Linked DNA regions of Homo sapiens: regions 2, 3, 4, 5, 6 and 7 are each linked to region 1. Evidence: promoter capture Hi-C in 16 types of primary human blood cells and fetal thymus (Javierre and others, 2016). All regions are on one chromosome and are shown on one strand. Each heading gives the region's core, a stretch centred on a gene start or on the middle of the fragment in contact. The rest is flanking DNA. Distances are from core to core; before and after follow the strand shown. Region 1 holds the start of LINC02332 (long intergenic non-protein coding RNA 2332). Region 2 has its middle 3.1 kb from the start of OR10G2. Region 3 has its middle 33 kb from the start of OR4E1. Region 4 has its middle 50 kb from the start of OR4E1. Region 5 has its middle 150 kb from the start of OR4E1. Region 6 has its middle 200 kb from the start of OR4E1. Region 7 has its middle 260 kb from the start of OR4E1.

Region 1 (4,165 bases), core at 712-3,211:
AAGGGTAGACTTGCACTCCTCCCCACTAATCAGTGGGATTTTAGGAAGGCTTTGAAAATGGGAAGGATCCTCCCCTCAGATCCTATCACCTTTGGAATGGGAACATGCCCACATTTCCAGAGCGAACAGACACTGGAGTCCTCTCTTCTCAAAGGTGGCGAACCGTCCTGGAGTGACGTGGGGTGTTCTGGCCTGCGAGGAGATGGCTGCCCGCAGAACCTGCCCGCTGGAGGGCGCTGCAGAGGTCTGGCTCCGTGCTTTCAGATGTGTTCGGCCAGGGGCTCCAGGGGCTCCTTCTGAAAGCAGAGAAGCCCCCAGAGGTTGAGAGGGGAGATAAGACGTGAGCCTTTTCAGCTGTGATGTGGTGAGGAGTCAGGGAGGCCGTGAGCACTGTGGGGCCAGAAGTGTTGGCTTCTGTCAGAAACTCGGCCCAGCCTGACCGCTGCCTCCTGGCCCTGTCATTTCCCCTCCATCACGCGCTTCCTTCTGGAAGCCGGAAGCAGGAGGTGGGAAGCTGCGGAGGTAGTGACAAAATCATGGTGTAACAAGAAGCTCCTAGGGCCGAAGTGACTGGAGAGGTGGCCACATACTATGAGAAACACCAGCGCACCGGCAGGGCCTGGGGAGTTCTGAGCTCTCCCGGGCTGTGTGAAGCCGCAGCCAGCCCACTTTTTTCTCAGTATGGCAGTGCCATCTGACCTGGCCCAGCCCATCTTGTTCGGGTCATGGTTCGTCTTCCTGGGCATTCTGATGCATTCCCACTTCATATTTGCACTGGGATTTCAGTTTACTAAGCATTCCACACCCATTACTGCTTTCAATCCCTTCAACAACACTGAGAATAGGTGGGCAGGTATTTTTATCTCTATGTGAATAATAACACATGGGGACTCAGAAAAATTAAAGGCCCCAGGAGAGAAGGCTAGTGAGGGGCAGTGACGCTTAGGGACAAACAACTGGTTCTCCTGCCTCCTGCCTGAGGACTCCTGCCTGAGGAGAATATAGTAACAAAAGCCTCTGTCTTGCAATTGCAGCCATTAACACATCTCTTTCATACCCACTACTCACTGGACTGTTAACTCCTTGAAGACAGAAACTCTGTGTGTGTGTGTGTGTGTGTGTGTGTGTGTATTTAATGGGAGCAGTACTTTCTTGAGGCATAATTACATGAAAATACACTAATGATGCATTTGATATATATATAGCCATCACCCAAGATAAAGATATGGAACATTTCCACCACCCCTGAAGGTTTCCTCGTGCCCCTTTTCAATCCATCCTTCTACCCCAGAGGCAAACAGTGCCCTAATTTCTATCACCTGTGATGCGTTTTGCCTGTTCTTGGACTTCATCTGTATGGAGTCATAGTTTGCACAGAGACTGAATCCCCAGAGCACGACACAGCCTGGCACATGGCAGGTATACAATGCCAAAGAAAGCCTGGTTCTTAAACTACCTGTGAGAGAGAGTTCGTCCCACCGGGAAACTGAGGCGGTGGGCGGTTAGTGACCTGCCAAAGGCACGAGTGTATGATGTGGTGGATCCCGGACTCCAGCCAGCCTAATTCCGAACCCAAGGCCTCCTCCGGGCCCCCAGCCCTCCCTGGGCACTTCCTCCAGGGCTCCGGGTGGAGCGGGTCTGACGATCCCGGACGAACAGCGCCCCCTGCTGCCGGCCCAGGCCCCAGGCCCTCCTCTCCTTTGGGGGGGGATGTGACAGGATGACACAGGCCTTGCGCCCAGCGCAGTGACGGGCACAGGGCAGGGACTTGTGGGATAAAAGTCACCTGCCCTTTTATTTTCCTCGGAAAAGAGCTTTTCCTAAACTTTGGGGGCTTTCTATCTCCAGAATTAACAGACAAAGGGAGAAGAGGTCTTTTTGGTGGAGCGCTGCTGCCCCCATGCGGGTGGATGGCGACACTACCGAAGAGCAGGCGATCAAGCCTGGTATTTTTGGGTTTCAGGTTCTGCGGCTCCCTGAGACCAGCAGATTCCTGGTCTCCGGGTCCCTGGGTCCCGGACGTGTCCATCAAGGCGTCCATTAGGGCCATCACCTAATGGACAAGCATCAGGGTAAGGGGGGAGGTGCTATTGGGGGGGGGTCCCTCAGAGAATCAGCCCTAGCTCTGTGTGGGGGCAAATACGGCCTCCCCACCTCCTTCCCTCCCAGGAGACACTGGCCTGAGCATAAGTCTCGAGGGTCTGCCCTGTACTAAGCAAGCGCTTAATCAGGTGAGATCAAGGTCTGATCTTGGCTGGTTTGGAGGGGCAGCAGAGGTGCGGTGAGGGAGGCGGCTCAGCGGTGGGGCCAGCAGCACCTCCCCAGCCTGCTTGCGGGCCCGGTGCAAGTCACCGAGGGGCCGGCAGCCCCTCCCAGCCTGGCATGTTGGCCTTGCTGCACCTGCGGTTGGGGGGTGGTGTAACGGCCCAGCCTGCTCCCCTCGGCACGTGGCCTGGGGCGATGCTATCTCTAACTCAGTATTTTAAACTCTTCTTTCCAGAGGATGTGGCTTCTGCGGGAGAGCTTCAAAGGGTGCCCTACTTGCCCCTCTTGGTAACCATGACGTCATGGAAATGGGAGGGGACCGCCCCAGCCCCCAAACACCTGGAGGGAAGTGGGAGACTTTTTCCACTTCCTGTTCTACTTGTGGCTACTGACTCAATGTCTGACCTGTTTATTAATTGCAAAATATAGCTCTATGTGTGCTACCCAGAGAGGCCTCAGGCCTGTGTGTCTCTGTGTGAAAGGAGGCCTGCACTCCCCACCCCTCGCCGCGTTGCCCAGGTGGCCTTGACACAGACGCAGGGCGCTGGTGGTCCTGCAGCCTTCCGGCAGCCAGAATGACAGCACTGGGTCTCCATGTGCTTGCTCCCCCAGACTCATCCCAGTCAGAAGCTCGTCTTCCCACACATGGCTCACGGAGGTAGATGGGTTTTAGAGTAGGACTCATGGAGAAACTGAGGCGAACCCACATAAAGTGACTGTTGGCTCTGGACCTCAGTGTGGTCACACAGTGAGGTCAGACTCCCAGGTACCCTGCGTGATTTACCACAGTCCCTGTCCTCCAGGCTTTGTTGGATAGATGTGTGCCTGCCTGGGGGCTGCCCTGAGCAAGGGGCCACCACTCAGGCTTTCCTTGTTCTGAAGTTCTTGACAAGTTACTTTAGCTCTTGGCAAAACTGTGAAGCATTGACTCACCTGACCACTTCCTCTACTAATCCCCACTTTCCTTTCTCCTGTACTCCCCACTCCTCACACTCAGCTCCCCCCACCCAGAGCCTAACTGCAGGAGTCATTCACTTATTCATTTAACGGCATCTGTTGTGTGCCAGGCACTGTTCTAGTTCCTGGGGACACATTGATGACAAGGGACATTCCCATCCCACAGAGCACACAGGCCAGGGGACTTCCACACTAGGATGGTACCTGATAATAAGGTGCTATAGGCCTGTCTGTATACGTGATCCCAGGGGAGTTGAATTTTATGTTTGGACCTAAAAAATAAGCAACTCCTTAAGACTCAGATGGCTGCCCCCAGTGAGGGTAGCAGCAGAGGGGTTGCTCTGTCAGAGCTGAAGACCTCACCAGGATGCTCCTGAAGCACGTGCTTGCATAGCCTGCCCTTTCTCCTGAGTGGCTGTGACTCCAGTTGCACTCAGAGGTCAAGTCTTCAAGTGAAGTTTCAGAGAGTCCTCTAGAATCTTAGGGCTGGGGCCACAAGAGCTCATTTAGTCCATTCTTCTGCCTTTGGGACTGGCCTGTGCTTAAGTCTTTTGGGAGAGTAGGGCATGTGTCCAGAGAAGTCCCTTCTACAACTGGCCTTAGTAACATGTTCCCTGCTGGGATGTCGGCCTGAGGTTGGGTCCAGGCTGGTAGAGCTGCAGCTGCAGCTGCAGCCCAAGGCCTTGGCTCGCAGGGTCTGTGGGTCTTCATGGCCAGTCTCTTCATGACTGTGTTTTCCAGGTCTCCTCAGCTGCCTATTCCCTCCAGGCTAAGCAATGCCCAGTTCCGTATAGCTGGGCCCTCTGCACTGAGGGGCTTTGCTGTGGTGGCGTTAGGCCCAGTGCTGACTTGGCCGGTGGGCACAGGAGCCCTTCTCCTGAGCCTCCTCACAAGGCCGTTCTAATTCCCTCTGACATACCAGGTGGGCCCTGGAGCCAGATAT
Region 2 (4,165 bases), core at 598-3,097, 920 kb after region 1:
GAGGTTAGAATTTTTCTTTAAATCTCTTGGCAGTGTCTTTTTTTCTTTTAATCCAAAAAAGCAACAGCTGATGGAAACTGATATAAAATATGACTGAATATATACAGAAGTCACACTTGTCCAAGAACCCCAAAGACAGGCGTTCTCAAAGATTCTGAACACTTATTTGCTGGGCCAAACTCCTTAAAAAAAAATTATAAAGGCTTTCCGAAACAGATGTGGGAGCCCTTTATAGTAGGCTAGACTGAATCTCTGAAGACCATCTCTCCATCCGCTGGACCGTTGCACTCAAGGGCAGCCAGCCTCCTCCACAATTGTGCAGCTCTATACAAGTGAGTCTAAAAGGATGGAAAAAGCAGGCCTGACACCAGCTATGTTCAAAATAAGGCTGCAGACTAATTTTGGAACTTTAAGACTTTCTGTTATTTTGTCCGAGTGTTAATTTAATCCGTCTCTTTTCTCCATGCGTTTCCTCAACTCTTTCCCAAACGGGCTAGAATTAAGTTCCTTCTTTTCAAACTTGGGGAAACTCTTTTTGTGTTGAGAAAATGACTCAAAAAAAAGCATTACAACACTATTTTCTTTTCATATTCTCTTTTTATTAGGGCAGTGATAAAGGGCAGAGTTGGGCAGTGATAAAGTCATAGGGGTCTTGAAGAATATTCTTCAGTGATTGTGCAAACACAAAGAAAGGCTGGATTCATAACCTTCCCCTTCTCCAATGAAGAGGGCACTAAGTACTTTTTCTAAAGCAAGTTCGTTTTTTTTAACCCCCGGTAATAGGAAAGAATGTACTCTTGTGAATTCGATAAAATATGTCTAGGCCACCTCAAATTCTATCCATTTCCTCTACTCTGCCCTAGCTCTACCAGGATGTCTAACTCTGAATAAAGGATGACAGAAGGTGAAACTTCTTTTTGGAAGCAGATTGGGTTGAGTTTTGTCACAAGGGTAAACAGGAGTCCTTTGATCATAATGTGTCCAACGCAATGCTGGACCAGCCTTCACTCCTCATCTTCAAGATTTCATAACCGTTGCATAGTAGTCCAGATCCCAAAGGTCACTGTAGAAATCTAGGTTCAAATTGCTGGATAGAGGCTTGCCCTCCTCGGCACCTCTCTAAATACACTGCAAGAAATGTGTTCACATATCAAACTAGCTTGATTTGGGGCAGAGTAGGGGCATAGAAAGCAGCTTATCCTGTGATCCCATAATGCCATAGAGGTCCCTTGAAGGTGTTCTTGACCCTCCCTGTCCTTACCTTCTCAGTGCTACTCTTTCACCCCATTCCCAAAGTCTCTTCTTAGAGTTTCCAGGATAATTGCTTTGTAAAAATATGCTGTTTATTCTCTGATGTCACTGGGCTCTTATTTTCAGATGCTTTTTATATTGAACTTTAACTTTTTGTTATTTTCATGTGTTTTGATTATTTAAATTCTGACCTATCTAATTGGAGAATATCCAATACAGTCTAAAACTTGGGGAATTTTAGAATATTTTGGTTATCTAATTAGCTAGGGTAGATATACTAAAATTGTATTTAACTTTCCTTATCTTAAATATCATAAGTTTCAAAAGCTAAAAAAGAGGAACAGACCTAAAATAAAATGACACAAATCTGGAAGATAAGGGAGGGGGAAAAGAGGATACACAAATACGGCCTCTACATTTGTCTTTTTTTTTTTTTTTTTTTTAGACAAGGTCTCAACCTGTCACCCAGGAAGGAGTACAGTGGCACCATCATGGCTCACTGCAGCCTTGACCTTCCAGGCTCCAGTGATCCTCCTGTCTCAGCCTCCTGAGAAATTAGGACTACAGGTGCCCACCATTATACCTGGCTAATTTTTAAAATTTTTTTTACAGACAGGGTCCCACTATGTTGCCTAGGCTGGTCTCAAACTTCTGGGCCCAAGCGATTCTCCAGCCTCATCCTCCCAAAGTGCTGGGATTACAGGCATGAGCCACCATGCCCGGCCTTTCTTTTGTCTCCTCTAAGGTGGTCCCAGACTGTTCACCTCTCTTGCCAAGAAAGCCAATCCTTCTGTAAACACACTCTTTGTTTCTCCAAAAATCTACCTTCTGGAAGTCTAAGCTATCTTCCTCTGCAGCCTCTGAATACCAAACACCAAGCTAAAACCACTGTTCTTTACCAAGTCTGCCTGGAAAGGTATCCTGTCCTCAAACCGACCAGCTATAACCCATCTCAGTTTCCTGCCTCCTCCCAGGCAGGGAACCCAGAACCTAGAGGGGTAAAAAGAGCTTTCTTTCAACAGGGAGCCTGGGAGAAATGAAACCAGACTTAGGCACAACAAAAGGGGGAAAATCAGACCGGCAAAGTAGATAAATTAGGGATAAACTTTTCACTATACGAAAGTATGCATCATGGAAGTCCTTCAAATAATTGCCCCAGTGGTACAGTTCTATCTGATTTTAAATATAAAAATGGATTTTCATAAAACATTTCATGAATATATTATTTGCCTAAGTAGAAGCCTACTAGTTTATATTCCTGTATTGGCAAAGAAAATTACTTTAGCTCAGCTGGGCGCGGTGGCTCACGCCTATAATCCCAGCACTTTGGGAGGCCAAGGTGGGTGGATCATGAGGTCAGGAGTTCAAGACCAGCCTGGCCAATATGGTGAAACTCCCTCTCTACCAAAAATACAAAAATTAGCTGGGCGTGGTGGCGCGCACCTGTAGTCGCAGCTACTTGGGAGGCTGAGGCAGGAGAATCACTTGAATCTGGGAGGCAGAGGTTGCAGTGAGCCGAGATCAGGCCACTGTACTCCAGCCTGGGCAACAGAGCAAGACTCAATCACACAAAAAAAAAGAAAGAAAAGAAAATTACTTTTAGCTCATAATAAGTATATATATATATATATATGTATATGTATATATATTTTTTTAAGAGATGGAGTCTCGCTCTGTGACCCAGGCTGGAGTGCAGTGGCGCAATCTTGGCTCACTGCAACCTCCGCCTCCCGGGTTCACGCCATTCTCCTGCCTCAGCATCCCGAGTAGCTGGGACTACAGGCGCCCACCACCACACCCAGCTAATTTTTGTATTTTTAGTAGAGACGGGGTTTCACCGTGTTAGCCAGGATGGTCTCAATCTCCTGACCTCGTGATCCACCCACCTTGGCCTCCCAAAGTGCTGGGATTACAGGCATGAGCCACCGCGCCTGGCCATAATTAGTATTTTATGCACCATTTTAATCTCAACTCTTTCTATCTTTGCTCTATATTCATTTTTTTTTTTTCTTTTTGAGACAGAGTCTCTCTCTGTCACCAGGCTGGAGTGCAGTGGTGCGATCTCCACTCACTGCAACTTCCGCCTCCCGGGTTCAAGAGATTCTCCTGCCTCAGCCTCCCGAGTAGCTGGGACTACAGGCGCCCGACACCACACCCAGCTAATTTTTTTGTATTTTTAGTAGAGACAGGGTTTCACCATGTTGGTCAGGGTGGTCTCCATCTCTTGACCTCATGATCTGCCTGCCTCGGCCTCCCAAAGTGCTGGGATTACAGACGTGAGCCACCACGCCCAGCCTCTTTTCTCTATATTCTAACCACAAAAATAAGATTTAGTTTTCCCATCCATTTTCAAATAAATCAAAGTGTCCTCCTGAAACTCAGGCAATAAAAATCTGATATTTCTTCGTTCTTGGTGGGCAAAGGACAAGTTTAACATTTTCCAGACTTCGAAGAGCCAGATATATTCAGTATTATTATTATTACTACTAATAACTCTTGAATGTTAACATATGAATTAAGTTATTTCACAGAATACTTAAGATAAAATCTCTTTGGAGAATTTCCGATAGAGATTAAACTTATTAATATTCACATGTTATTTATAATAATCTATTGTCATTTTAATTGCTTTATGAAAGTAGTCATTTGCATTACAAAGATATTTTGTAGTTAAATGAAAGATAAATGCATCTCAAACCATATATAGAGCGAAAAGTCTTTATCAAGCAACCTATTTAACAAAAAGAGTGAAACAAACACATTCCATCCCTCTATTTTATCATCTTGTTCAGATACTTGAAAATCTGTAAATGTCTTTAGAGAGAGTTGCTGTTTGATAGACTGCAATACATAGATATTACACACAAGCACACTAAAGATCAAGTCCTGCATTAATCAATGATTTTATAACAAA
Region 3 (4,165 bases), core at 484-2,983, 850 kb after region 1:
GTGGTTATCCCTGTCTTGCTTCTGACCAAAAAGAGAATGCAGCTACAATGTCTCCATTATTGAAGCTTCCTTTGTAGCCTAATACATGCCCAATTTTTTAGAATGTCCATTAGTGCTGGAAAAGAGAGTGTATTTTCTGTACATCTCACAAAGCTCCTTTTGAACATATTTCAATCCACTTCTATCTCTAAAATTCTGTCTCTACAGGGGGCTCAAAATCAGTATGAGGAGACAAGTGGAGAACAGATGGTATGCCTTCCTCCTCCAATATTTTCTCATCTCTTCACCTTAGCCTTTTTACTGATCCAAATTTTCTCACCTCTCTCCAAGTTACAAAAAAAAATAGGTCTCATCTATGAAAGGACAAAAATTAATTCAGGTGGAGAGAGACAAAGAAAGAAAGAAGGAGGATGGAGATCTTGGTGGTTTCACAAGCAGCAGCCAGCCAAAATGTCATTGGATAGCTTGAAAAGACATTTTGAAATGATCTATATGCAACTTACCTGGGACTTTAATATTTATAACAAAATATAATTCTAATTCATTTGAATTCTTCCAAAGTTCTAAGAGAACTTCATTGGTTTTGGACAATGATTAGAGAAGAAAATAACACCAAGTAGGATCAAAGAAGAAAGAATAGGTTTAATATTACAGGGAGAGGCATCTGGGGATAGGGTGGGAGATAAGTAAAGGAAAAAATGGTAAAACCCTCCAAGATGGCAAAAAGTAACATACAACAAAAATGGGACTTTATCTGCCAATTATTCAAATAGACTCCAATAAAGTCTATTGAAAAATAATTACTTGCTGTAACTGGATTTTGTGGGAAATGATGAAGAGACTGTGCTCTGTGATGAAGATTGATTGAGGCATGACAGAATAGCATGAGTGAAGTCAGTGAGAATAGCAGCATAACAATCAAAAACCACCTCTTCACAAAGGCAATGAAAACACTGGCCAAAAAAATTGTCAAAATAACTTATTCTGGCCGAGCACAGTGGCTCATGCCTATAAACCCTGCACTTTGGGAGGCTGAGGCAGGCAGATCACTTAAGGTCAGGAATTTGGGACCAGCCTCGCAACATGGTGAAACCCTGTCTCTACTAAAAATACAAAATTTAGCCGGGCGTGGTGGCACACGCCTGTAATTTCAGCTACTCAGGAGGCTGAGGCATGAGAATCACCTGAACCCAGGAGATAGAGTTTGCAGTGAGCTGAGATCGTGCCACTGCACTCCAGCCTGGGTGACAGAGTGAGACTCTATCTCAAAAACAATGAATAAATAAATAAATATTTTTTTTCTGAACTCTGGAAATTAACAAAAGACTTGCAATAATTCAAGAAGCATTTACTCATGAAAACTGGCTGTATCTAGATAAGAACAGTGAGCAGCAACTTTGTGGTGTTTTAATTTGTCCTGTTCTCGTCTTCTTCTCCCCAGCTCTCCAATAGCCTTGAAAACCAACAGCACTGCCATAATGGTGAGAAACAGCAGCCTTGAAGCTACTAGACAGGGCAAAGCTGGTTTGGAGCTCCCCAAAAACACTATTCTCAGAGCACTGTCATTATTTGACCTGTCTGGCATATTCCTGCAACCTCCATTGGCAAGACTTGCCTGTATTTGATCTTATTCAGAACTTGCTCATTGCAAACAACCTTTTTGGAGGGGAGGAGGTGGAAAACAATAAGCACCAATTATTTAACATTGCCACTGCCTGAGGAGATGATAATGGTGGAACAAACAAGAAACTGACCAATACACTTAAAGGAAAAGCTGAATAACGAAATGTCAATAGGGGGCTCTGAAAAACTCCAACATATTCCTGAAACTCTAGAAAGCCATGCAGAAGCACACAGAAGGCTGTATACACGCCAAAGGCCACTTGAAGACCTAGGAAAGATCTAAGAAGTACCTAATATCTCACCTAAGACTGACCTTGAAGCTCTGTGAGAGCAAGAAGTGAAGGCTAAGGCAGAGTTGCAAACTGCCAGGCTAAATATTGAAGGTCTGGTGAAACACATGCACAAAGCCCATCAGTGAAGGATAAGAGACCTACTGATTCCAGACATTTAAGGAAATCTCTATCCAATCATTAGCTGACCATTAAGCTAAACAAGCAGAGATTTTAATGGCCACACATGACAAAGAATACAGGTTTTACAAATGCATTCAGGAAAGTCAGTAAACAAACTGATAGCAAACACAATAACAAGCAGCAGCAACAAACCCCGAGGGGGTGAGTGACATTTCCAGAGTTGCCATATTATTTAAAATGTTAAATATCTCCCAAAAAATGATAAAATTTTAAAGATAAATAAATAAAATGTTTCAAGGCAAAAGTAAAATAAAATGTCCATAACAAGTTTTCCATGAAAAAAAAAGACAAAACATGCAAAGAAACAAGAAGATATGGTCTACAGAAAAGTCAAACAAAGAAAAGGAAAGTTTGAGGAAGCTAGATATTGAAATTATGAGGCAAAGACTTTAAATCAGCTATTTCAAACATGTTCAAAGAACTTTAAAAAATCACAAATAAGGAACTAAGAGACTATAAGAATTATGGCTCACTAACTATAGAATATCAATGAAGAGATAGAAATTAGAACAAAAGAACCAAAAGGAAAAAATAATAAATTTAAAAGGATTAAAACTATATAATTTTCTTCTACCATAATGAAATTAAACTAAAAGTTAAAAAGGAAATTTGGGAAATTCACAAATATGTGAAAATTAAACAACACACTCCTAAATAAACAATGAATCAAAGAAGAAATCATAAGGGAAATATGAAAATAATTTGAGATTAAAGGAAACAAAAACACACCCAAAAAATCCATAACAAAACTTATGATATGCAGCTAAAGCAGTGCTTAAAGGGAAATTTATAAACACCAAATTATAAAAAGAAAAAATATTAAATTAATCATCTGTTTACCTTAAACTAGAAATAAAGGAACAAACTAAACCTAAAGCAAGAAGAAGGAAGGAAATAATAAAGACTAGAGTGGAAATAAATGAAATAGAGATTATAAAAGCAATAGAGAAAAACAAATTAAACCAAAAATGTCTTCTTTGAAAAGATCAAGAAAATTGACAAACTTTTTGTTATGCTAAATTGACCAAGAAAAAAAAAAAGAGAAAACACTGAAATGACTAAAATCAGGAATAGAAACATTACAAATTTTACAGAAATAAAAATGATTATAAGGGAATGCTATGAACAACAATGGCATATGCCAACAAATTGGATAACCTAGATGAGAAAGACAAATGCCTAGAAAGACGTAAACTACCAGAACTGACTCAAGAAGAAATAGAAAATCCGAACAGATCTATAACAAGATCAATTAAGTAAACAAAAAGTATTCCACAAAGTTAAATCCAGGCCCAGGAAGCTTCACTAGTGAATTGCATCAAATGTTTAAAGAATTAGCCCCAATCCTTCACAAACTCTTCCAAAAAATGAAAGAGGTGACAATACTTCCCATTTTGCAATTATAAGGGAACAATGCTGAAAACTTTCATAATATTGCTCAAGCCTAATTTGCCTAATACTTCCCAGACTACATCTTTTTATTCTTCTTTCTTGACTTTTCTCTCTTTTCAGACCTTCAATTTCTGCCTTTTCTCAATCAGTCCTACCTGTATCTTTGGTAGTCATTTCAAAGAAAAATTTTAGGGAAGTAGGTGAGCCATTTATTTTTAAATAAACATCTCATCTGACATGGTTTTGCCTATAGTCATGCAGGTGTGCACTGTCCAACCCCAGGAGAACTATTCACATCACAGACCCATAGATTTTAATTTCCATTACAATTTGTAGGCAAATGGTAGTAAAGCAACTTTATCTCATAAAAATCAGTAAATGCAAACAGGCTACAACTAACTGTAACTCACAAAGAATGCTATAATGACCCTAACTCTGACATCCCTAGTGAGTTAGGACTGCAAAGGAAACTGATGAACTCCTAAGAGAAATTTTGTTTTATTTACTCAAGAGATCTTATTATTACACAAGTCAAAATCTAACTGCTTTTCACACAAAACCTGCCTCTCTTTCTGACTTTCAATTTCAGTATTTGTTTCTAACATTCACCTAGAGTTTAAATCAGCTAGCTCTCTCCACCCTCTAATCTATTCTATACAGTTGAGTAAGATTAACTT
Region 4 (4,165 bases), core at 778-3,277, 830 kb after region 1:
GTGAGATTATGTGGTATTTGTCTTTCTGTGCCTGGCTTATTTCACTTGACATAATGTCCTCCAGGCTCAATTGTGTTGTCACAAATGGCAGGATTTCTTCCTTTTATAAGACTGAATAGTATTTTATTGTGTTTATATGCCATGTTTTCTTTATCCATTCATCTAAGTATAGATACTTAGATTGATTCCATATCTTGGTTATTGTGAATAGTGCTGCAATAAACATGAGAGTGCAGATATCTCTTTAACATACTGATTTCATTTTCTTTGGATATATGCCCAATAGTGAGACTGCTGGATCATACAGTAGTTCTATTTTTGGTGTTTTGAGAAACCTCCCTACTGTTTTCCATAATGGTTGCACATTATGGAATTTACGTTCTTGCCAGCAGTGTGGAAGAGTTCCCTTCTCTTCACCTTCTCAACAATGGTTGTTATCTTTTGTCTTTTTGATAATAGCCAACCTAATAGGTTGTGAGGTGATATCTAATGGTGGTCTTAATTGCACGTTCCTGATAATTAATGATGTTGAGCATTTTTTATATACCTCTTGGCCATTTTTATGCCTTCATTTGAGAAACGACTATTCAGTTCCTTGGCCTATTTTTTAATCAGGTTATTTGGATGTTTTTGGTATGTGAGCTTCTTAAACATTTTGAATATTAACCCCTTATCAGATGTAGAGTTTGCAAATATTTCCTCCCATTCCATAGGCTTTCCCTTCACTCTATTTATTGTTTCTTTTGCTGTGCAGAAGCTTTTTAGTTTAATATAGCCCCATTTGTCTATTTTTGCTTTTGTTGCCTGTGCTTTTGGGGTCATATCCAAAAATTCCTTGCTCACAAGAGATGAAAAGCTTTCTCCTGGGTACTATGTTCACTCTTCGGGTGGCAGGATCAATAGATGCCCAAACCACAGCATCACACAATATGCTTTTGTAACAAACTTGGACGTGTATACCATGAACCTAATTTTTTAATGGTCTCAACAGGGTATGTAACATTGCAAAATTATTATGATGATGACATTTCACCTCGGTATAAAAAGAAATGTCTGTTGAAAATAAACCCCTTTTCAGAAAGAAAGAAAGAGAGAGAGGCAGGGAGGGAAGGAGGGAGGAAGGAAGGAAGGAAGGAAGGAAGGAAGGAAGGAAGGAAGGAAGGAAGGAACTTCTTGCCCAGACCAATGTCATGGTAATTTTCCCCTATGTTTTTTTCTATTTGTTTTACACTTCTTTCACCTTTTTATGACCGGTGCTTTGCCCAGTACCTGGCACATCAGGACTCAATAAACACTTGCTGAATGAGCAAATTCTATGGTTTTAAATTGTAGTTTAACATAATAAGTGACATATCCTGGAAGCACACCGTTCTCATGTGAAGGAACAAAGACTTCAAGAAAATGGGCTTTACCAGACTCAAGAGTTTGTGTTCTGCTCCCCCTGCAGCCCCTATCAGTGTGTGTCTCTCACAGCACAGAAGTACAAAGCGGAGTCGCTCACAAGGGCAGATGGTTTCTTCAGGTGGAAGGAGGTTTGGCTCTTGTTAAATTCAGCTTCAAAGCCATAGCTGCCTTTAACCAGGTTATCCCCTGTGATGTATTTCAGAAGGAACTGGAGGCCTCGGTTGGGGTATTGAACATACCAAAAAAGATAAGGGTTTCCAGAGACTGAATAGGTGCATTTCACAGTCAGAGGATTCCCTTCAGCAACGTTGACCTGATCTTCCGGCTGAGCCACTGACTGAGCTCTCAGCCCACCTGTAAATTAATCATGCTGCATCAGTGAAGCTGCTGGAGAGCATGTAAGTGGATCATGCGAGTGGAAAATGGGAAGGGGATATTACTCACTCAATGTGAAGAGCATCGCAAGCATCGAGATGGGTGCAGAGGCCATGGCTCCAGCTAAGCTCACGGCGGGCGGGATTGGGGGGGTCCTTTCCAGCCCACCTCTGCTGGAGATATGGCCCCACCCCAGAGAGTGGGCTCTTGAAGAGGAACCAGCAACCCTGTGTCAGCACAGGGCTTTTGGAAATGGCCCTTCCTCAGGGCACTGGTGCTTCCCGACACCGGTATCTTCTCTCTGTGGAGCACAATTTTGATCCAGCTCCTCAAAGCTCTGTGAGGAGCAAGACTGCCGCTCCGCCTATGCCCAGGACAGACCTTACACTGCATCGCCCCCTAGAGCCCACACGTAGGACCAGCGACTTTACTGTCAAGCAGCTGGTGCTTCCTGGCCTTATCCCTGGGCCAACCTTTGGATGGTTACACGCTCCATGAGGGACATAGGGAGCAAATTAGGGGTTCAAAGGAGAAGAAATAGAAGTTTGTGAATCAAAGTGGAAAAGATTCAGGCTGAGTGGATCAAGCTGTAAATGATTTGTGCTCTCTTAAGATAATGTAGAGACAGAAAGAAGGGAAATAGGATGGGAAAATGCACAGAAAAAGAAAGGAAAATATAGCTTTGCATCAAGAGGGAGAGAAAAATTTAAAGTGAGAGATAAGAAAAAGCAAAATAGGAGAAAAGAGTAAGGCAAGAGAAGATAAATGACAGGCGAAAACAGGAGCCTTGCTCTTCTCGTTAGAAGTAATTCAGAGCTGGCTTCTGTGTAAACCTCTTTGACCAAAAATAACTCAGAATTTTCTCCACGTTGGGCCTATTAGGAGCCCATCCCATAATGATCTTTAGGGCAAAAAGAAACTTGAATCTTCTCTTTAAACATTTTTAGAGTGAGAAAAGTACGAATAGGTGTTATAAATATTTTTGGAGCATTTGTCATATTAAACAGTACATATAAAACAAAAAAATGAAACTCTGAGAAGGGGTTGCAAAACAGGTACTTTCCACATGCAGAGCCTACTTAAAACAGACTTCAAATGAAGTACGTATTCAGCAAAAAATGTATGGTTAACGAAACTTGATGTATTATGATGGGGAAAAGGGGTTCATTGGAAAGGGATGGCATGCTAAAGTTTTATACTAAAAAAAGGCAACAATAGCAACTGAGTGATTCTTTGATAGATTTTAATTTTAATGTAAAAAGCATGTATCAATATAAAGAAGTTGTTCCTCTGATTTGCCTTCTGTTTCTTTTGAATAGTGTCCAAATAATGTTCACTATATATTCTGAGGAAAGGATGAAAAATCTCTTTGCTTTGAATCAGAAAAAAAGTGGAACATAATTCTTTCTAAAAGCTTTGCTAAAGATCTCATATTTAATCATTGAAAACTTAGCCATATAATAATGTTTTTCTTTGGAATTGGTAAACTGTCTTTAAACAATAATCTTCAAGTTCCAGAGAGACTTGTCATAAATGGAAACATATAGTGAATTTCTTCTCTTTCTTCTCTCTCTGCCTCAAGCCTAAAATGAGTGTTAGTGTTGTCTTTTTGAGGGTCCTGGCAATCGCCTCGAGAAAATCATTGAAAAAAAGCTTAACAAAAAGAATATTTTTAAGTGTATGTGCAAAATTTAGGGAAAACTACAAGGGAAGGTGAAGCACCTGGGGCTAATAACAGCCAGAAGATTTCACCACTCCTAGGCCCAAAGGGACGGGAGAAGATGAAATTACCCTAATCTCAGGACACCTGTAACTAATCACAGGCCAAAGGCGACATGACCCTTTACAGTCTAAATACCTCTTCTTGACCATATTCTGGGTAGACCCAACAGGAGCTGTAAACTTCAGTAGAGGAAAGAAAGGATCCTAAAATGCAAATATCTTGACCACTCTCTCCTGCTAATACCTCCCACTGGGGTAAACCCAACCAGATGCCAATGGACATGGGAGACCAGTCCACATAACGTATAGAAGTCAGCCTCCTGGGGTACAGAGCAGGATATAATAGACCTGAAGAGGAAAATGGAGAAATGTCCAGCCCTCTGATGCTGGAGTTTATTGCTGCCCTACAAATGCATATACGGGCATAGCTATACTGCATTTTGACAAACATAAAAAGACAAATAAAATAAGTTTAAAACAATAGTCTAATATAGACTTTAGTACAGAGCAGGATAGAATAGACCTGAAGAGGAAAACAGAGACTGTCCAGCCTCCTGACACTGGAGTTTATTGCTGCCCTATAAACGCATATATGGGCATATATCAACATATGATATGATCAACATAAAAAAGCAAATAAAATAAGTTTAACTAAAACAGTAGT
Region 5 (4,165 bases), core at 746-3,245, 730 kb after region 1:
GATAATAAAGAGTTGATGCAGCACCTGGACAAAAGCCTTGATCTGGAGCATAGCTAAATGGGAAGAGCAGATTTATTCTCACAGGATGCTTTCTGAGAACTTGAATAGCCATGAAATGACAACTGAATGTCTTTCAGGGGAAGGAAACTTCTCAAGATATTTCCGGCCAGGAGCAGTGGCTCACGCCTGTAATCCCAGCACTTTGGGAGGCCAAGATGGGTGGATCACGAGGTCAGGAGATCGAGACCATCCTGGCTAACACGGTGAAACCCCATCTCTACTAAAAATACAAAAAAATTAGCCGGGCGTGGTGGTGGGCGCCTGTAGTCCCAGCTACTCAGGAGGCTGAAGCAGGAGAATGGCATGAACCCGGGAGGTGGAGCTTGCAGTGAGCCGAAATCACGCCACTGCACTCCAGCCTGGGCGACTGAGTGAGACTCCATCTCAAAAAAAAAAAAAAAAAAAAAAAAAAATTTCCATCAGCCACATAAACTTGTTGCTCTTTCACTTAGTTGACATTCTGCTGGTAGGTGTCCAGATCAAAAACCAAGCTAGTCTCTCCCTTCCAAACAACACTGTCATCTACTTCAGCAATAGTAACACAGCATGACAGACTGTCTTGCCCTTGGGAACACCCAGATGTAGCAATTAACTTTGTGTGTTGAGTGAGAATGTCTTTATCCTCGCTTGAGGACATGTATTCTACTTGAGCCTAAGTAGAACTTTAGGCTCAAGCTCAAATCAAATCATGTCGGAGAGATAAATATTCACTAGTGAAATCATATTCTGCATAAAAAATAACGGTCTACTCTAACTCCTATGCCTCCTTGATAACCTCCAGGTGCAGGTTTGCATACTGGCTTCAAGTGCCTGTGGAGCACAGTGCGCTCACCACACAGATGTAGGAGGCTGAATCGCTGAGCTGGGAGGCTGTGATGTGCAGAGAGCTTTGCTTTGTGTCTGCATCCAGAGTTGCTGTATATCTTCCGTTCGACTTTGTGTTCTCACTGAAAGTCATGATTGTCAGGGAAACAGGACCTCTCCCCGTATCTTGCTTATACCACCTTAAGTTGCTGAAGGGGCTCACTGTATAATTGCATTGAAGAGTGCAGTTCTTTCCCTCCAGGATGATCAGGGACTGAGGACTCTGCTCCACTTGGTTTTTGCCATTCCCCCCTATTCAGAAAGAAAAGTGAGATTCAAGAGATCCATCATCCAGTATTAATACTGTCTAATTTGCATCCCTTCCTTACTCCCCACAATGAATCCCAAGTGAAACAGAAAATGGTCCCATTTTCTCCCTTCCTCCTATCCCAGTGGACTACATCTTCACCCCAAATCCTAAGAAAATATTCCCTTGACTTACTATGTTAACTTTGCTAAAACTCTCCACTAACTTACTATAAAAATAAAGCCACAAAATCACCAAGAAGGTCGTCAGATGCTTTTTCATTTTTATTCTGCAGAGATCTGCTCCCAGAAGTTGACTTGTGTATTCAACATCTTCTCTTTTTTTTTAACACTAACCAAAGGGTTTCTCAGAGGGTATCCCTAGCCAATCAGAGACCAGGCTTCGCTATGTTACACATACTACACATTCAGACCTGCAGGCGGGGCGAATGCAAATACTGCCCTCTTGGGGTCAGAGCTACAATTGCTTAGAACTTTTGATCAAGCTTTTTTCCTCCTATTTGCAGCATGATATAGAGGATAAAGCCCTTCATGTCTATATCAGCACAGTAGATTAGTAATTTAGACATATATTTGAAGCTCTGCATTCTGGCTCTATGTGATATTAAATAGGAGAGTTGAGCCTTAGCTTTCTCATCTGAAAATAGGTATGATAACACTTACCTAACAATTTTTGAAAGATTGAAGAGATGATTCATGTAAAGGCTTATTGTAGTGGCTAACATGAACTTAGCCTTCAACTGAAATATAAGCTCCCTTAGGATAGGGACTTTTATCTGTTCTATTCTCTGCTACATTGTCAGTTGCTAGAATAAGGCCTGTCAATAAATAGGCATATAATAAATTTTTATTGAGGGAATGAATAAATGATAGTTTTGTTCTGGTAATGACAGAGTTATTTTTATTATTCATTTTTAATTCAACAATTATTTTTCAAATGCCTACATTTTCAGGTATGATGATAAGTGCTGAGAATAAGCAAAGTCCCTGCACACAGGGGATGACATTCTAATGAGAGGAAAGACAGAGTATTTGAGCATAGATGCAAGTGACTGGTAAGTGTTGAAGTTTTTGAAAATTCTCTTCTGATTGTTTCTATTTTCTCAGTGAAATAAGAAGCTTATGAACAGTTGAGAGTGTAGATATATGAGGATTTATTTTAAGTTTGAAATTTAAAGCTCAGAGAAGTTGAAAGAATGGAAATAGTTATACAAGAAACAATAAAAAGAAAGTTGGTATATTATAGTTGTATAAGCAAAGTAGGCTTTTGGAAAAGATTTGCTAGAGGTAAAGACCGTGTGATGGCTAATTTTATGCATCCACTGAGATAGGCCCCAGTACCCAGATATTTGGTCCAACATCAGTCTAGATGTCACTGTGAAGGTGTTTTTAGATGAGATTAATATTTGAATCAGTAGACTTTGAGTAATGCAGATTTTCTGCATAATGTGAATGGACCTCATTCAATCAGTTGAAGGTCTTAAGGGAAAAACACTTAGGCTCTCCAAAGAAGAAGAAATTATGCCTCCAGACTTGTCTTCAAACTCAAACTGCAAAATCAGTGATTCCCAGGTTGCCCAGCCTGACGACCTGCCCTGCAGAAGTTGGACTTCCCAGCCCCTAAAATTGTGTGAAACTATTCCTTAAAATAAATCTCTCTATATAGATAGATAGATACAGATATAGATATGTACATATCTCTATCAATACAGATAGATATATACAGAGAGTTGCATGTAGACATCACAGTCTTAAATCTGCGTGAACCTAAATAATATAGATCCATTGTTAGTTTTATATGCTCTTGTGAACAGCTGCTTTCCTTTACAATGAGATTACTTTTTTTTTTTTTAAGTTCTGGGATACTTGTGCAGAACGTGCAGGTTTGTTACATAGGTATACATGTGCCATGGTGGTTTGCCGTACTTATCAACCCATCATCCAGGTTTTAAGCCCCACATGCATTAGGTATTTGTCCTAATGCTCTCCCTCTGCTCTCCCCCTAACCCCCGACTGGCTCCGGTGTGTGATGTTCCCTCCCTGTGTTCATGTGTTCTCATTTTTTACCTCCCACTTGTGAATGAGAAAATGCGGTGTTCAGTTTTCTTTTCTTTTTTTCTTTTTTTAAACAGAGTTTTGCTCTTGCTGCCCAGGCTGGAGTGCAATGGCATGACCTCGGCTCACTGCAACCTCCACCTCCCAGGTTCAAGTGATTCTCCTACCTCAGCCTCCCAAGTAACCAGGATTACAGGCACCCACCACCACGCCCAGCTAATTTTTTGTATTTTTAGTAGAGATGGGGTTTCACCATGTTGGCCAGGCTGGTCTTGAACTCCTGACCTCAGGTGATCCACCCACCTTGGCCTCCCAAAGTGCTGGGATTATAGGCATGAGCCACTGTGACTGGCTGGTTTTTCATTTTCTATTCCTATGTTAGTTTGCTGAGAATGATAGCTTCCAGCTTCATCCATGTCCCTGCAAAGGACATGAACTCATTCTTTTTTATGGCTGCATAGTATTCCATGGTGTACATGTGCCACATTTTCTTTATCCAGTCTATCATTGATGGGCATTTGGGTTGGTTCCCAGTCTTTGCGATTGTAAATAGTGCTGCAATAAACATATGTTTGTGTGTCTTTATAGTAGAATGATTTCTAATCCTTTGGGTATATATCCAGTAATGGGGTTACTGGGTCAAATGGTATTTCTGGTTCTAGATCTTTGAGGAATCGCCACACCATCTTCCACGATGATTGAAATAATTTACACTCCCACCAACAGTGTAAAAGCATTCCTATTTCTCCACATCCTCAATGGCATCGGTTGTTTCCTGACTTTTTAATAATCACCATTCTATCTGGTGTGAGATGGTATCTTATGGTGAGATTACTTTTAAATATTGATGGCAATGGCATTGTAGTCCAAAGTAAGGGTTGATCCCCCAGAGATGCTTACTTCAGGAAAGGATCATGGA
Region 6 (4,165 bases), core at 1,033-3,532, 680 kb after region 1:
GGTCTTTGTTGTCTGCATGTGTCTGTTTTATTCATTATTCTACTCTTCATACCTACAAAAACAATTGTTGCTTATTGTGTGTTTCATAAGTAAGTGTATAATGAATGAATTCAATGTGTGTCTGTCGTTTAATGCCTAAGTTTTCTATCTCTCCATGATGCTTACTTGTGTCTTTTCGGTGCCACACTATTCTCCTAAAAATACCCCTAAAACTTAATTGCCCACATACTTGGAATTTTATCTATTGGTTAAGTTTTCATGCATTTCATCTTATTCCTCAATTGATTTGCAAGATTTTTCTGGTAAGTTCATTCTGCTTAAGAGTAACATTTTATACTACTGTCGGTATAGTCAAAGGTCCTAATACAGTACGTTGTACACATAGGGGATACATATTTATTCTCGGTGAATATGTATTCTTCTTGCTTACTTACTGGATGATTAGCCACCAATTTAACCAAGTCAATGCAGTCTTTTTTACATTATTAACTGAAGAAAAGTGGTGCCCTTTAAAGACGTTCTTAAGATTAAGAAACAAAAAGAAGTCAGAAGGAGCCAAATCAGCACTGTGAGGGGGATGCCTAATGATTTCCCACAGAAACCTAAATTCTCCTCGCTTGATGAGAGGAATAAGTTGGAGCATTGTCGTGGTGGAAAGGGATTCTCTGGTGAAGATTTCCCAGGCATTTTTCTGCTAAAGCTCTGGCTAACTTTCTCTAAACATTCTTATAATAAGCAGATGCTGTCATTCTTTGGCCCTCCAGAAACTCAATAAACAAAATGCCTTGAGCATCGCAAAAAACTGTTGCCATGACTTTTGCTCTTGACTGGGCCACTTTTGCTTTGACTGGACCTCCACCTCTTGCTAATCATTGCTTTGATTGTGCTTTATCTTCAGAATCAAAAGGATAAAGCCATGTTTCATCTCCTGTTCCAATTATTTGAAGAAATGGTTCAAGATCATTATCCCACTTATTCAAAATTTCATTGAAAGCTCTGCTCTTTTCTGGAGCTGATCTGAGCATAGTGGTTTTGGCACCCATCAAGTACAAAGTTTGCTCAACTTGAACTTTTCAGTCAGAATTGTGTGAGCTAAACCAGTTGAGACATTTATAGTGTTGGCTATTGTTTCCACTGTTAATCATCCGTCCTTTTTGATTAGGGCACTTATGGTTAATTTTTTCTTCACAAATTGTTATGGAATGTCTGCCACTGTGGGCTTCATCGGCATCCTCTTGTCTATTCTTAAACAAATTATCCATTTTGTTTAAGAACAGACAGACAAGAGGATGGCTGATTTTATTGGAGTGTTGAGCCTATAAATTTTTCATAAAGCATCAGTGATTTCACCATTCTTCCACCCAAGTTTCACCATAAATTTGATGTTTGTTCTTGCCTCAAGTTTAACAGAATTCATGTTGCTCTGATAGGGGCTCCTTTCAAACTGATGTCTTATCCTTCTTAGTGCCTCAAACTAAATCCTGTTCAGATATGTTATAACAACTTAGTATAAGTTTATTTTGGTGCCAGAAAATTTGAAATCCATGCACCGTTTTTCATAATACGCAATTTCTTTTTTCCATAAACTTTTTGAAGACACCTAGCATTTATTGAATAAACTGATCTGAAAATCCAACAATTCACAAAGAGTGTTGAATTTGTTTTTATTCATCTTTCAGTCATATGTTTCTGAATTACCTTAGCCAATTCTTCCAGCTCAATCTAGTGGCCAGATGGCAAATTGCTTATTGTGGCAGTTCTTTCTCTCAATCATTGGTCAAAATTTTGGTGTGTCTAACTTCAAACCAAAGACTCAGGGATTAGGATGTTTTTGATGAATGATAATTCTGGAAATGGTCTATAAGCCTAGAGAGGTATTTTCTTACAGTGTTTTCCCCCGATGCTACACCTGTGCTGTCACAACCATAGCCACTTCCTGTCTGTGATGGTGAATCCTTTCTTTGGTCTCTCCAGCAAGTGGATGTCTCAAGCAGACCCTTGGGGATTTTGTGTACCTCACTCCAACAGTTCTCTCACTGTAGCCTCTTTCAGTGCACAGAAACACATCACTGAGTTCTCCAGTTGTGAAGTGGAGATGACAAGTTGATGGATTTGCTTGCCTTCTGCAAATGCAATGAGTAGTGACCTATTGCTTATTGCTGATCGTGAGTCCTGATGAATAAGGAAAATCATCTCCCCACTCCTGGGCTACTTGTGCCAGAAAGGACTATAACTTCCAGCACTGGTGTCATAATTGCAGTCCAGAGTCACAGCCTCCTTCTCATGCACCAATACTGATGGTTTAATTTGAGTTACTTCTCAGCAAAACCAGATTCTGAAGGAGAAAACAAAGAACCAAAAGGTTTAGGGATGAGTGATGTGGAACAAAGAAATTCTATTTTTACACCCTGTTACTTCTTCTGTCCCAAAGTTTTGATGAGACATTTCCCAGTCCTTGGGTCTTAGAGGAAGACCATTCCCACCAGGGGCATCCCTACCTAGCCACATTGAAGCTGTGACCACCCTCAGGCAGCTGGAGAGCAACATGTTTGGTTCTTTCTCTAGAGAGAATATATTTTGTTCTTCTTAAAATTCAGGGCTCTGCATTGTGAGGTGAGTCTGATGAAGTAAGAGAAGAATTACTGGACTATGTGCTGCTGCTGCTGCTGCTGCCCTGGAATAGGAAACGGAGGTTTTCCGGTGTAGCAAGCTAGTTTGTGTTATCTAACACTTCTCTATGTACTGGCTAAGAACCTCACCCAATGCAAACTTCCTTTGCACTTACCCACCCTTAATTTGATAATAAATAACTTAAATATGAAAATAAACATGGTCAGGTTAGAAGGGAAATTGATAATTCGGCCAATTGCTATGTTCAGTCATTGCATCTGTGATGGAACTGAGCAATGAGGTTGAGAGGTTGGCACTTACTTTAAAATACTACATGTAATGAATAATGAAGGCAACGGAAGATGTAACAATTATGTATCCTCACATCTATGTATGTTGTTGTTTCTCCTAAGGTAGAAATTAATCACATTATGCTAAGAAGGAAAAGCTGTTTGCACTAATCACTGCAGATCATCGGACCTACATGTTAATATAGCAATATTTGTCCTATTCCCAAAGTCTGTCCAGTTGCTTATCTGGGGAACAAACGGTAGAAAAAAACTAATCTCTCTTTCTCTTTTCTACGCAGAAAAAAACTAATCTCTTTTTTCTGAGAGTTTAGAATGAAGCCCTCAGACATTGAGTCCTATCTTAAAAGTTTTCTTCTTTTTTCAAGTTAGTTTAGACAGCCCAGCTCTGTTTATACAGGCCATATTAGACACCAGACTCTGATCATTAAGTTATCAAACCTTTGAATTTATGCATTTTTATTATGTCATCTGGGACCCCAAATGAGCCATAACAAGCCATTACATTCTGTACATCCACTGCTGAAAGGTATGAATCCTAGGTGTCTCCATACGTCTCCCAAGGAAAAACTATTATAGGAAAATTGATTGTGATAAGGCTTTCGTTTTGTGAATATTAGCAGTAAGGCCATGTCCTAGGGATATTACTCAATTACATTAAAAACAACAAAGACCCATTGCCTATTATAGCCTATTTCTTAATATAATGATTACAACCTATCCTCCTTGTCTTAAAATGATTTCAGCTATGTCTAAATTTGTTGAAGCATCTCCAGATCTTTCACTGAAATCACCATTAAATCTTATGATGCCACATACAGCACAAATGATCTACTCTGTAAAAACAACCATTTTTTTACCAGTTGGTGGACTAACTATACAATATTATTAATTTCTCCTCATAGCGTCTAACTCCATTACACTTCTCAATCAATGAATCTTATGATTGCATTTCTGTAACTCAAGAAGTGTCCATCCCAGAACAGATATTTTGGACAGTCTCATACCTAATTCTGAATTAATTTTGTTTTTAATGTCTTATCTTCAAAACTGAAAAGAAATAACACAAGGTTTATAATGCATTTACTGCTCCAGACTCCATTATAAAATCTAATTCCTTAGAAGAAGCAAAACAAATTAAAGTAACTGAATTTGTGGCTCTCTCTTTGCTATGTCCAATTATGAAAAATATATACAGTGATAGCCTATATGTTTTAACATAGTTCACAACTCTCAAATACTATGGA
Region 7 (4,165 bases), core at 934-3,433, 620 kb after region 1:
TAGACATTCTAGTACAATATTAAACAGAAACAGTGAGAGCAATAACTTTTTTCTTATGTGTGATCTTAGGGAGAAGCCTTTAGTTTTTCACCAAGTATGACACTTGACATAGGTTGTTGTAAGTTTCCTATATTAAGTTGAGAAAGTTCCTTTTAATTTCTCATTTAGAGAGAGTTTTTAATCAGGAATGGATGCTGGATTTTGTCACATGCCTTTTCTGGGTCTATTGAGAATATTCTCATTGTTAGATCATCTGCTACTTGTTAATCTTCTTTGATACATTATTGATGAATTCTCACAACAAATACTAAAGAAGCTATCACTATCACACTTTACAAAAAAAATGTAACAAAACACAAAAGTATTCAGCAAGTAAGTACATGGCAAAGTTAATAGTTTTGAACATAAATCTCATTAATAGCAAAACATGTGTTCCCTATTTTTTCCAGTATAAATTGCTTTCAGAGAAATTTCAGAGAGAAGTTAGAAGACACCAACGTGACTTTTTCCCAAGCCCTTGAAATATTTTAAGACAGCAAGTTAATAGGTGCTCTATTTATCCAAATGAAATTTTTTAAAATAATTAAATAATTTCAGGTCTCATTCTTTGACTAAAAGAGGAAAGAAAACATATTTTAAAGGATGAATAAACTGCAGTTTAGGAGCTGACCACCAGGTAGTGGCATAAGCATTCCTTTCAGACCAATTATTAAACACCTGATGAGCAATGCATGGTAGCAAGGCTGAAAAAGTTCCTAAACTTCTGTGAACCACCAGAGTACTGGAACTTTATTCATGGCCAGTGACCACTCTCTTTCTGTTCCTGGAAACTTGCTTGTGATAAAGGAGTCTAAAGCATAGTTGTTCAAATTAACCAGTATGAAAATTTCTCACATACAGGATCATAGCTTAATTCTTCCTAATGACTAACATTATTTAAAGCATTGTTTAATCTGTGCACAGTCAGTCATTGTTATGAAGCATTATTTCACAAGATTATGCAAGGTTTAAGGACATAAATGGGAATAATTTTCAAGAACATTCCAAAAATCTGAAGTCTATACAACCCATCAACTTGAACAATATTTACTGGTCCAGCAATTTCTAAAATAAAACTTGGTACACTTCACAATAAAAGAAAAATACAAAAACAATAATATGGAAGCCAAAACTTTGTCATAAATATGATTGAATAAATTTATCATTTTCCCCTTTCTTCATAGAAATAATCTAAATGCAACAAGAAATTTAAGAACAATAACACTATATCTATAATTGGGGTCAAATTAAGAGAAAGAATCCGAATATTTTTAAGAGCCAACCAAATTAAATGAGCTTGCACAAATGCACAGGTACAGTGAATCATCCTAGATCCAAATGAAACAATCCACCAAACCAGGCATTAGAACATCTTTGGCCTTCTTAAAGTTTGTTAATTTCAAGCATTATATTAATAGATTTTCAAGTATTAAATCATCTTTACATTCCCAAAATAAATTCAACTTAATTATGTTGTTTTTTTTTGTGCATGCATTTGTCCCTTCTCACTTTTTTTTTCTGGATCATGTTAGTATTGTAATTATTTTCAAAATATCATGTTGTGGTTTTATCATTGATTTTGTTATTTTCCTTTGAGCCATTAATTTCTTGCTTTTATTTTTAATTCCTTCAATCTACTCTCAACCATTTTATTTTACTGTTAATTTTATAACTTCTGGAGTTGTATATTGAATTGGCTTACTTTTATATTTCATTGTTTGCTGAAAATTCATCAATTGGAGTCAAATGACCCAAGTTTAAGTGTTGGATGTTTATTTACTAGATCTGTGGACTGAGGTAAAACTTTCTGCTTCTATATCTCTCTAGTATGGAAACCAGAGTGCACATTATTTTCTCCTGGTTTAGTATTTTCAATTACTAACTAAACATTGCTTTAAAAATATGTATCCAAATACAAATTCTTCATCTTGTTCAGCACATCATCATGTGTTAGAATATTTATTCTTAGAAGGACATCATTCTTTGACTTCTCAACATTTAAACTAAATTTTGAAGGGCCTGATGTATTAAAGATATAAAATGATTACATTATGAAGTTGATGCTTCTATGTATGCTTGAAGTTTTGCAGCCTACATGAGTTATCCTGAGGGACATGAGACAAATGTCCTGTTCTCCAATCTGCTGTCACAACACCTGAAATTCCACCATTAAATATGCTTGTAGTTAGAACTAATAAATGAATTCAACAAACTTGAAGGATACAGAAACAGCACACAAAAATCAATTGCATTTCTATAAACTAACAATGAACACTTTGGAAATTAAGAAAATAATTCCATTTGCAATAGCATCAAAAAGAATAAAATACTTAGGAATAAACTTAAACAACAATGCTAAAGACTTGCACAATGAAAACAAAAATGTTGCTGAAATAAATTAAATAAGGCACAAATAAGTTGAAAGACATCTGATATTTATGGATTGGAGAATTTAACATCATTAAAATGTCGATGCTACCAAAAGCAATCTACAGATTCAATTCAATCCCTATCAAAATCCCAATAGTGTTTTTGCAGTAATAGAAAAATCCATCCAAAAGTTCATATGGCAGCTTGTGAAACCCCAAATAGCCAAAATAATCTTGAAAAGGAACAAGTTTGGAAGGTCTAACACTTCCTGATTTCAAAGCTGATTACAAAGCTACAGTAATATAGCAAAAGCTGTGTGGTGCTTGCATAATGACAGTCATATAGACCAATGCAATACAATAGAGAGCCCAAAATTAAACCTTCACATTTACAACCAAATTATTTTAGGAAAGGGTCCTAAGACTGTTTAAGGGTGAAAGGAAAGTCTTTTCAACAAACAGTGTTGGGAAAAACTGGATATCCACATGCAAAAGAGTGAAACTGCACTCTTATCTTACAGGAAAAGCATCGCGATTTAGATTTGGCAATAATTTCTTTTTCTTTTTTTCTTTTTTTTCAGCCTTCAGAAAGCATGGAATTGGCAATAATTTCTTGGCTATAATACCAAAAGCATAGGATGCAAAAGAAAACTTAGATAAACTTGACTACATCAAAATTAAAAACTACTGTGCATCAAAGGGCACAATTAATGGAGTGACAGAGTGGATAAACAACCCATGGAATGGAAAAAAAAATATCAAATCATATATCCGACAAAAGATCAATATCCAGAATATATAAAGAACTCTTACAACTCAGCAGAAAAAAAAGACAACCCAGGCCAGGCGCGGTGGCTCACATCTGTAATCCCAGGACTTTGGAGGCCGAGGTAGGTGAATTGCTTTAGCTCGGGAGTTCAAAACCAGCCTGGGCAACATGGTGAAACACCATCTTGAAAGAAAGAAAGAGAGAAAGAGAGAGAGAGAAAGACAGACACCCCATTTCAAAATGGGCAAAGTAGTTGAATAGGCATTTTTCCAAGGAAGATATACAATTGGCCAATAAGCACAGGAAAAGATACTCATCATCACGAATTATTAGGGAAATGCAAATAAAAATCATAATGACATACTACTTCATGCCCATTAGGATGGCTACTATTCATATCAAAAATAATGATAGTAAAAGAAGTGCTGATGAAATGTGGAGAAATCAAAACACCTGTGTCCTGTTGGTGAAAATGTAAAATGGTACAGCAGCCACTGTGGAAACCAGTTTGGCAGTTCTTTAAAAAATTAAAAATAGAATTATTATGTGATTCAGCAATTGCACTTCTGGGTATATCACTTCTAAAGTTGAAAGAATTGGGGGATATACCCCAAATATTGAGACGTTTGCATACTCTTGTTGAGAGCAGCTTATTCACAATAGCCAAAAGATAGAAACAGCTCAAATTTCCATTGATAGATAAATAGTTTAACAAAATAGGGTATGTACACACAATTGAATAATATGCAGCCTTATAAAGGAAGGAAATTCTGAAAGCCTGCTTCATACTATGACATGAATGAACTTTGAGGACATTACGCTAAGTGAAATAAGGCAGTCACAAAAAAAAATTGTATGACTCTAGTTATACAAAGTACCTAGAGTAGTCAAACTTATAAAGACAGAAAGGAAGGCTGGTTTCTAGGGATTAGGTGGAGAAGAAAATAGAGAGCTATTGTTTAGTAGTCACAGAGTTTCAGGTTTCCAA

What was found. The method cuts DNA at HindIII sites, captures the fragments that hold promoters and counts their contacts. A CHiCAGO score of 5 or more calls a contact.
Region 2: a contact is called between a fragment that was not itself captured here and the fragment with the promoter of LINC02332 in region 1, in 1 of 17 cell types (naive CD8 T cells). The highest score is 6.7, in naive CD8 T cells.
Region 3: a contact is called between a fragment that was not itself captured here and the fragment with the promoter of LINC02332 in region 1, in 3 of 17 cell types (total CD4 T cells, non-activated CD4 T cells and naive CD4 T cells). The highest score is 6.4, in total CD4 T cells.
Region 4: a fragment that was not itself captured here is called in contact with the fragment with the promoter of LINC02332 in region 1 in 5 of 17 cell types (naive CD8 T cells, total CD4 T cells, non-activated CD4 T cells and 2 more); the score reaches 10.2 in naive CD8 T cells.
Region 5: a contact is called between a fragment that was not itself captured here and the fragment with the promoter of LINC02332 in region 1, in 7 of 17 cell types (total CD8 T cells, naive CD8 T cells, non-activated CD4 T cells and 4 more). The highest score is 10.6, in total CD8 T cells.
Region 6: a contact is called between a fragment that was not itself captured here and the fragment with the promoter of LINC02332 in region 1, in 4 of 17 cell types (non-activated CD4 T cells, naive CD4 T cells, activated CD4 T cells and 1 more). The highest score is 8.9, in non-activated CD4 T cells.
Region 7: a fragment that was not itself captured here is called in contact with the fragment with the promoter of LINC02332 in region 1 in 6 of 17 cell types (non-activated CD4 T cells, total CD4 T cells, naive CD8 T cells and 3 more); the score reaches 11.0 in non-activated CD4 T cells.

What each region holds. Positions count from the first base shown.
Region 1 is chr14:22,554,858-22,559,022 of GRCh38, reverse strand. It overlaps LINC02332 (long intergenic non-protein coding RNA 2332), which reads left to right and starts at 1,961. Exons shown (of 3, transcript NR_146543.1): 1 at 1,961-2,072; 2 at 2,170-2,231; 3 at 2,501-2,712. LOC105370399 (a long non-coding RNA gene) reads right to left here and starts at 2,457. Exons shown (of 2, transcript XR_007064066.1): 1 at 1,457-2,457; 2 at 1-296. RefSeq lists enhancers at 1,356-1,565, 2,426-2,765, 2,816-2,915, 3,496-3,625 and a silencer at 2,266-2,315. The HindIII fragment of the contact is 9,123 bases long and covers 1-4,165 here.
Region 2 is chr14:21,635,957-21,640,121 of GRCh38, reverse strand. It overlaps TRA. Among named protein-coding and RNA genes, the nearest start is that of OR10G2, 3.1 kb to the right of the region's middle. The HindIII fragment of the contact is 5,745 bases long and covers 1-4,165 here.
Region 3 is chr14:21,704,589-21,708,753 of GRCh38, reverse strand. It overlaps TRA. Among named protein-coding and RNA genes, the nearest start is that of OR4E1, 33 kb to the right of the region's middle. RefSeq lists enhancers at 169-338, 3,680-4,165. The HindIII fragment of the contact is 3,331 bases long and covers 68-3,398 here.
Region 4 is chr14:21,721,618-21,725,782 of GRCh38, reverse strand. It overlaps TRA and TRAV3. Among named protein-coding and RNA genes, the nearest start is that of OR4E1, 50 kb to the right of the region's middle. The HindIII fragment of the contact is 2,337 bases long and covers 859-3,195 here.
Region 5 is chr14:21,822,796-21,826,960 of GRCh38, reverse strand. It overlaps TRA and TRAV10. Among named protein-coding and RNA genes, the nearest start is that of OR4E1, 150 kb to the right of the region's middle. The HindIII fragment of the contact is 634 bases long and covers 1,679-2,312 here.
Region 6 is chr14:21,872,931-21,877,095 of GRCh38, reverse strand. It overlaps TRA. Among named protein-coding and RNA genes, the nearest start is that of OR4E1, 200 kb to the right of the region's middle. The HindIII fragment of the contact is 5,738 bases long and covers 1-4,165 here.
Region 7 is chr14:21,930,398-21,934,562 of GRCh38, reverse strand. It overlaps TRA. Among named protein-coding and RNA genes, the nearest start is that of OR4E1, 260 kb to the right of the region's middle. The HindIII fragment of the contact is 4,495 bases long and covers 1-4,165 here.